Regions from separate parts of the Homo sapiens genome. Here region 2 is linked to region 1. Evidence: promoter capture Hi-C in 16 types of primary human blood cells and fetal thymus (Javierre and others, 2016). All regions are on one chromosome and are shown on one strand. The core of a region is centred on a gene start or on the middle of the fragment in contact, and the rest is flanking DNA. Distances in the headings are between cores, read along the strand shown. Region 1 holds the start of OXGR1 (oxoglutarate receptor 1). Region 2 has its middle 6.0 kb from the start of HS6ST3.

Region 1 (3,431 bases), core at 52-2,551:
TCCCTCAATCCCCACTTTATTGTTTTTTGTTTGTTTGTGTTATTATTGTTGTTGTTGTTTTGGAGACGAAATCTTGCTCTGTCGCCCAGACTGGAGTGCAGTGGCCATGATCTTGGCGCACTTCAACCTCCACCTCCTGGGTTCAAGGGATCCTCCTGCCTCAGCCTCGGAGTGGCTGGGATTACAGGCCCGTTCCACCACGTCTGGCTAATTTTTTGTATTTGTATAGAGACAGGGTTTCACCAGCCTGTTGGCCAGGCTGGTCTCGAACTACTGACCTCAGGTGATCCACCTGCCTCAGCCTCCCAAAGTGCTGGGATTACAGACGTGAGCCACACACCCGGCCAATCCCCAATTCGTTAAATAAGAATCTGCAACTCAGTTTCCCTGAAGACTATTAAGAGGTCATGTTGATGCAGCCCAAAGATATGGTTTTGCCTATTTATTCTTCGGGAGAAACAAATACAACTTCTGAGAGCTCGCTTCAGAAAAATGCATGCATGGACACGCAAATATTATACATACAAGTTAGAGGTTTAGAGACCATTACAAGCTAGTTCACGAATCCATAGCAACGAAACAAAAAACAAGACAGAGAAGAAAGACATTTCAGGGGAAACATTTTCCTCGCTTGTTGGGGGTGGGGGTGGGGCAGAGTCTTTGGTCGTTTCCAACACCACACAGTCCACCACGATGCAGGGTGAGCTTTGAGAACATTCAGCAGGGCGGTGATCAATGGGGTGAGGGATTAACTCTGTTTGTCTCCTAAGCACTCTCCCTGCCCACCTCCCAGACCCCTCACTTGGGTGTGAAAAAAAGTGTGAGATGAAATCAGAGATCCCTAACTCCCCCAGTTCTCTCCAAGTCAAATGTCTTCTCGCCCTGGGCTTTTTGTTCCCTAAAATGAAACTTCGCCTCCCGCCACAGGATCTGGGGTGCTCCTGCTGCCTCCAGAGAAGAAGGGGGCGCTGCTCCGTCCGACCCTGCCTGCTGCAGGGACGTGCGGGGGTGCTCTTTCCCCTGCTCCTCGGGCACCTCCCGTCTCCCTCCGGGTCAGGGCAGGGTCCCCTATACCCGCTCCCTCCGGCCGGTGGGCCCCGCTCCCCGATCACGCGCGGCTCACCTGGCAGCCCCGGCGAGGCGGACATGCGCCCAGCGTGCCTGTGCAGCCTAGTTGGTCCCGGACCGCAGACCTGTCCCGGGGAGGCTGCGCACCGCCCCGCCCCTCCCACCCCTCCGAGGCCCAGCGAGCAAGTGCGTGTTCTCGGGTCCTCGCCCCGAGCAGCCTGGCCAGCAGCATCCCGCCTCGCCCACTTCCCAGTAGACACAGGGACAGCGGCTTCCACTCCCGGGACCTCTGGACATCCTCCATCCCGGTTTGGCGGGAAACTGACCCAGGAGAAAGTGTTTGCAGAGGTTCCAAAAAACCAGCCCGGCGGGAGGGTTGTTGCCCCAGGAGGGTTGTGGCCGCCTTGTCTTGGTCCAGAAATTTCACCACTCTCCTACAGCCCAGTGCCTCTTTTTTTTTTTTTTCTTTTGAGAAGGAGTCTCGCTCTGTCGCCCAGGCGTCCAGTGCCTCTTATTTAGCGTGGGATGGAGGCGACTTACTGAAGCGTTGTCATTTCCCTGTATCCAATTACAACCCTGCCCTCCAGCGCTTAGCAAGGTGGCTTAAAAATAGTTTCTATCCCTGCAAAGAGCGTTTGTCTGTATCTCCAGATCTAGGGAGTAGGTTGCCTTCTTGCTACATAACTTAGGATTCGCCTTTTCTCTTCTCTGAACCTCAGCCACATCGTCCAGTATACTAGCGCCTCCCGAACCGTTGAACTTCAAGATCTCTTCCAGCATCAAAGAGTTCACTGTATTAGCGAATGGGGGTGCTTGGAGAATGCCCCTCTTCGCTCTTCCATGGACGGGCATTGAATGTCTCTTCTGCACTTCCATGTTGATGGGCATCAAACACCATGTATAGCCCATCCTCTGGGAATGCCAGCCAGCAGGAGCAAGAATGTTAGGTTAGGTGTCCCACCAGGGCCCAGGTGGAAAGATTCCGCCCTGGCTGATGGTTGGGATAGCCCTAGTTAGGCATTTTTATTATCATGCTTATCATTTTGATTATTTGAATTCCAGCCTCTCCAGGAAAATATTTTGCATTAGGAGAAAAAATGTTCTCTAATTTTACTATGTTTAATCATTTTTTCAATTCTTCATCTGGAAATAGTTGACCCTGTTTTGTTCCCACCTATGCATTGATCAGACATTTGCTGTTTGATTATTCTGTGTCAAGCACCGTGGAGATATTGAAGAATAATACATAATCTTTGCTTCCAGGAGCTGATGTCTTATAGGAAAACAAGAAATAAATTAAAAACATGATTAGGGCTTGCCACTTGTAAATAAGGGGCTGGGAGGGGACTAAACCCAAATGAAGGCTTTCTGAAGTAAAAGACATCCCAGTGTTTTTCCATGGTGAGCAGGATTTCCAGCTAACGAGGAAATGACTTAAAGAGGTTATTTGAAAAACAAGTACTGGGTCCTAGAACTCTAGACATGGAAAGGACATTTAAAAATATCCAGTCCTGTAAAGTTAAAATTGTGCAGGTGCTATGGAAAAAAAAAAGTATAATGGTTCCTCTAAAAATTAAAAATAGAATTATGACACAAGCCAGCAATTCTGCTTCTGGGAATATACCCCAAAGAATTGAAAGCTGAGACTCAAACGGATACTTGCACACCCATGTTCATAGCAGCATTATTCACAATAGCCAAAATGTGGATGCAGCCCAAGTGCCTATCAATGGATGAAGAAAATGTGATGTATACATTCCATGGAACATTATTCAGTTTTAAAAATGAAGGAAATTCTGACACATACTGCAACATGGAGGAACCCTGAGGACATTATGCTAAACAAAAGAAGCCAGCCACAAAAGCACAAATACTGTACGATTCTGCTTATATGAGGTGCCTGAGTTGTCAAAGTTATGGAGACAGAAATTAGAATAATGGTTGCCAGGAATTGTGGGGAGAGGGAATGAGGAGCTATTGTTTAATGAGTATGAAATTCAATTTTGGTAGATGAAAAGAGTTCTGTGGATGGGTGGTGGGGTGGTTGCATAACAATATTGTTGCACAATAATAATGCCACTGAACCACACTTCAGTATGGTTAAGATAGTACATTTATTTTTACGTGTATTTTACTATAATTTTTTAAACTGACGTTTTAAAAAATTCAGTCCTATGTATTCACTTTTCAAAGGAGGACACAGAATTAGAGTGGTCCAAATGACAAGCCCGAGGTCAGAGCCATAGAGGTCTGTGTAAAACCTATGTGCCAAGCCCTCTGTTCTTACTACCACATTCTGTGGGTGGCTAGGTCATTTGATTGAAACTATTGCTGTCTCAGACAACAGTATACTGTAATCCAAT
Region 2 (3,455 bases), core at 385-2,884, 910 kb before region 1:
TGATTTAAAAAATGTATCCACATATATGAAGAGAGAGAGAAAAAAATAAAATTCATGGCCAATGTAGAAAAGAGGAGGATTACATCCTGATTTGTGATATAAAACATTAGGAAAGAGAAAACAGTTTTTACCAAATGTGTTTCCACCTAGGATTTTTTTTCCAAAGGTAATAATTAAACTAAAGTTATCTGTCTTGCTGCAGACAAATTAAAGTGTATTTTTAAAGCTTGCTTTCTTAAAATGTAAGTAAACATTTTGAAGCTCAAAGCCATTTGAAAAACACAAACATTCTAGTTTGCTAAGAGAAAGAATAGTCATCTACACTGATTTTCATGCCCAGTCATCTGTTTTGCCTCCCATATTAATGACCTTACCATTCACTTAGCTTTCCAAGCTAGCACACTTTGAGTCATCCTCAATTTCTTCCTCTCTCACCCCTTCCTACTTAGTCACTGAATCCTATTGTTTCTACCTTTGGAATATTTCTCAAATGTGTACACTTCTGTTCCATTGCTATTCCTTTTGTTTGAGGTCTCATTTCTCTCTTGGACCATGGTAATTGCTTATTTAGTCTTTTACAGATTCTGTCAACAAATATTTATTGAGCACTCACTGCTATTATGTTACCTATGTTATTAAAACCACCACATTTTAATCTCCTGTCTAGAATTACTGCATGAACTCTAGATCCTATATCCAGCTATTTATTTGATATCTCCATTTAGCTGTCTCATTAGCAGTCTAAACCTAGCTCACCTAAAGCAGAACTCAAAATTCGCCCTCGCTGCTCCCCACCCTCAACACCTCCTAACTTTTTCTCTCTCATTTTCTTCTTTTTAGTAAATGGAACTATCAGGCTTCCAGGAGCTCAAGAGACACCCCGAGAAACATCTTTGATTCATCCATTGTTCACTTCCTCTTATTCAATCTTTCAGTAAATCCTGTTGATTTGACTTCTAACATCCATCTTGCCATCACTTCTTTCCACCTCTGGAATCAGACTACCTGGTTCAAATCTGAGTACTATCACTTACTATGTTACCTTGATTTCAAATGGTTTCAAAATCAGACTTTTCAAAGGGAAAAAAATGGCATCATTTAAAAATTCTAAAATGTGCCTTTACTATCAAGAGCCAAAGTATAAGGACAGTGAGGAAACGTGTGTTCCTAGTCTTTTTATGTCTTCTAAACTGGCTTTTTTTTTTTTGACAGAGGAAAGATAGGGGGATTTCTAGATACTCGTTAGGAGTGGAATTAATGGCTAGGAAAGAGTTTATAGTCTGCAGTTTGGTGTTTGGTCAGCACCTCACGATGATTTATTTATTACTGGCATTTATTTGGTGGGGGCAATGATAGAATTGTCTTGCATTCACGTGACTTGCAAATATCGCCCTACATTCAGAAACTGGATTATCCTTTGATGTATAGTAGGATTTCAAGATACAAGTTATGTTTTTTGAGATATTTTATTTTATTTATTTTATTTTTATTTTTATTTTTTTGAGACGGAGTCTTGCTGTGTTGCCCAGGCTGGAGTGCAGTGGCACGATCTAGGCTCACTGCAAGCTCCGCCCCCTGGGTACACGCCATTCTCCTGCCTCAGCCTCCCAAGTAGCTGGGAATACAGGCGCCCGCCACCACGCGCGGCTAATTTTTTGTATATTTAGTAGAGACGGGGTTCCACCGAGATATTTTATGTTATAGAGAAGTATTTTGACCAGACATTTTTTTAAAAGCCTAGTTAATTGGGGAACATTATACTTCCCCAATTTCTTCACTCTAAAAGTCTATAATTTGTCTGGGTGTGTGATTGCTTCAACCAAGGTTTTTCTCTCCTTTTTCTTATATGTCAATTTTTAAGTCAGAATTATTCTTACTTAGCCTATCACTAATTTTAATTCTGGTGTCCACAAACACCTCTGCAATTTTTTTTTTTTTTTTTTTGAGACGGAGTCTCGCTGTCGCCCAGGTTGGAGTGCAGTGGCGCGATCTCGGCTCACTGCAGGCTCCGCCCCCGGGGGTTCACGCCATTCTCCTGCCTCAGCCTCCTGAGTAGCTGGGACTACAGGCGCCTTGCTCTTTTATTTGCTTCTTGAAAAGAATGTCTTGTGCTCTTACTTCTCTATGTCCAAACTTGAGATAGTTAAAAGTCATAAGCATCTGCGAACTTCTTTATGTTGTCTACAGTAGTCAGGTCTCAGCATTTACACGTTGCAATACACAGTGTTTTATTAATTACTTTCTTTTCATGTTTCATTTACATTACAATTAGAGCATTATGTTAATTTCTGAGAAATTGTGTGTAGGTAGATTCTATTATCTATGATGCTTAACTTGAGATCATTAAAGGGATTACTTCAAAACATTTGTTTAATAAAAATGAGTGCTCCATCTGATGGGGTTAAACATCACTGGTTTCCATGCTAACAGGCCCTTGAGAAAGGGCCACAGAAGAGCTGAGGTGGCAGACAGAAGTGGGCTCGCAGTTCAGTGGAGGAAGATGTAGAGCATGTGGACATGACAGCTTAGATTCTAACAAGGCAGCAGAAGACCCAGCAGAAATCCAGGCTTGCACCTGCGATCAGGTAGGAATAACTGCACATGGAGGGGGTGAGGGGGAGCAGCAGGAAAAGGAAACTCCCCTGCAGACCACAATTCCCTTAGCCAGTACGAAAGGGCTTAGCTCACTGCAGGAAAAAGCAAAGAAGAAGGGGAGGGGAGAAACATGAATTTGACTATTTATTCCAAAGATACAGAGGTTAACTCAGAAGTGACTGAATTAACGTAAGTTGAATGCTTCTCATTTCCCTCTGTATCAGGCAATAGAATCTTAAAGGCAAAGTCTCATTTTGTTATTTGAAAATGAAGAAGTGAAATCTTTCCATACTAGGCCCGTGGACTTGTGTCTGTAAATTATTTTCCCCACCATTGCCAGCCTATCCCAAGTCCCCACCATCTCTTGCCTGGAGAACAACAGCCACTTCCTAACTGATTTCTCTGCTTTCTCTTTTGTCTTTCCTAATCCATTCTTCATGGATCCCAGTAAGCTTTTAGTATCAATCAGTCCTGTCATTTCCTCAATGACTACTTTGCACCCACTATCATGGCTCTGACCCCAAACCTCCCTCTCTTTCATTTCTCTATCATTTGTCTGTCTGGAGCCCCCTAAATTCTTTTCTGCTCCAGACCTTTGTGCTTATTGTTCTGCTTAGAAAGCTCTTCTCCAGGATGTCTGGCACGGCTAGACCATTCTAATCCTTCAGGACTTAGCCCCTTTGCCTCTATGTAACAACAGTCTTTTCTGACTCTCCAGTGGAAAGGCCTGCCCCATACCCTCAACCCTGCCATGAATTCTTTGTCATATCACCCTGCTATGTCCCCTCTTAGCACTTGTAATGATCTCAGTTGACATCCCTTTTGATGACAACTCCATCCTTTCAGTTGTTTAGGCCCCA

Evidence for each region. The method cuts DNA at HindIII sites, captures the fragments that hold promoters and counts their contacts. A CHiCAGO score of 5 or more calls a contact.
Region 2: a contact is called between a fragment that was not itself captured here and the fragment with the promoter of OXGR1 in region 1, in 1 of 17 cell types (endothelial precursors). The highest score is 5.3, in endothelial precursors.

What each region holds. Positions count from the first base shown.
Region 1 is chr13:96,993,175-96,996,605 of GRCh38, forward strand. It overlaps OXGR1 (oxoglutarate receptor 1), which reads right to left and starts at 1,302. Exons shown (of 4, transcript NM_001346194.2): 1 at 1,124-1,302. The HindIII fragment of the contact is 5,494 bases long and covers 1-3,431 here.
Region 2 is chr13:96,082,427-96,085,881 of GRCh38, forward strand. No RefSeq gene overlaps it. Among named protein-coding and RNA genes, the nearest start is that of HS6ST3, 6.0 kb to the right of the region's middle. The HindIII fragment of the contact is 2,821 bases long and covers 225-3,045 here.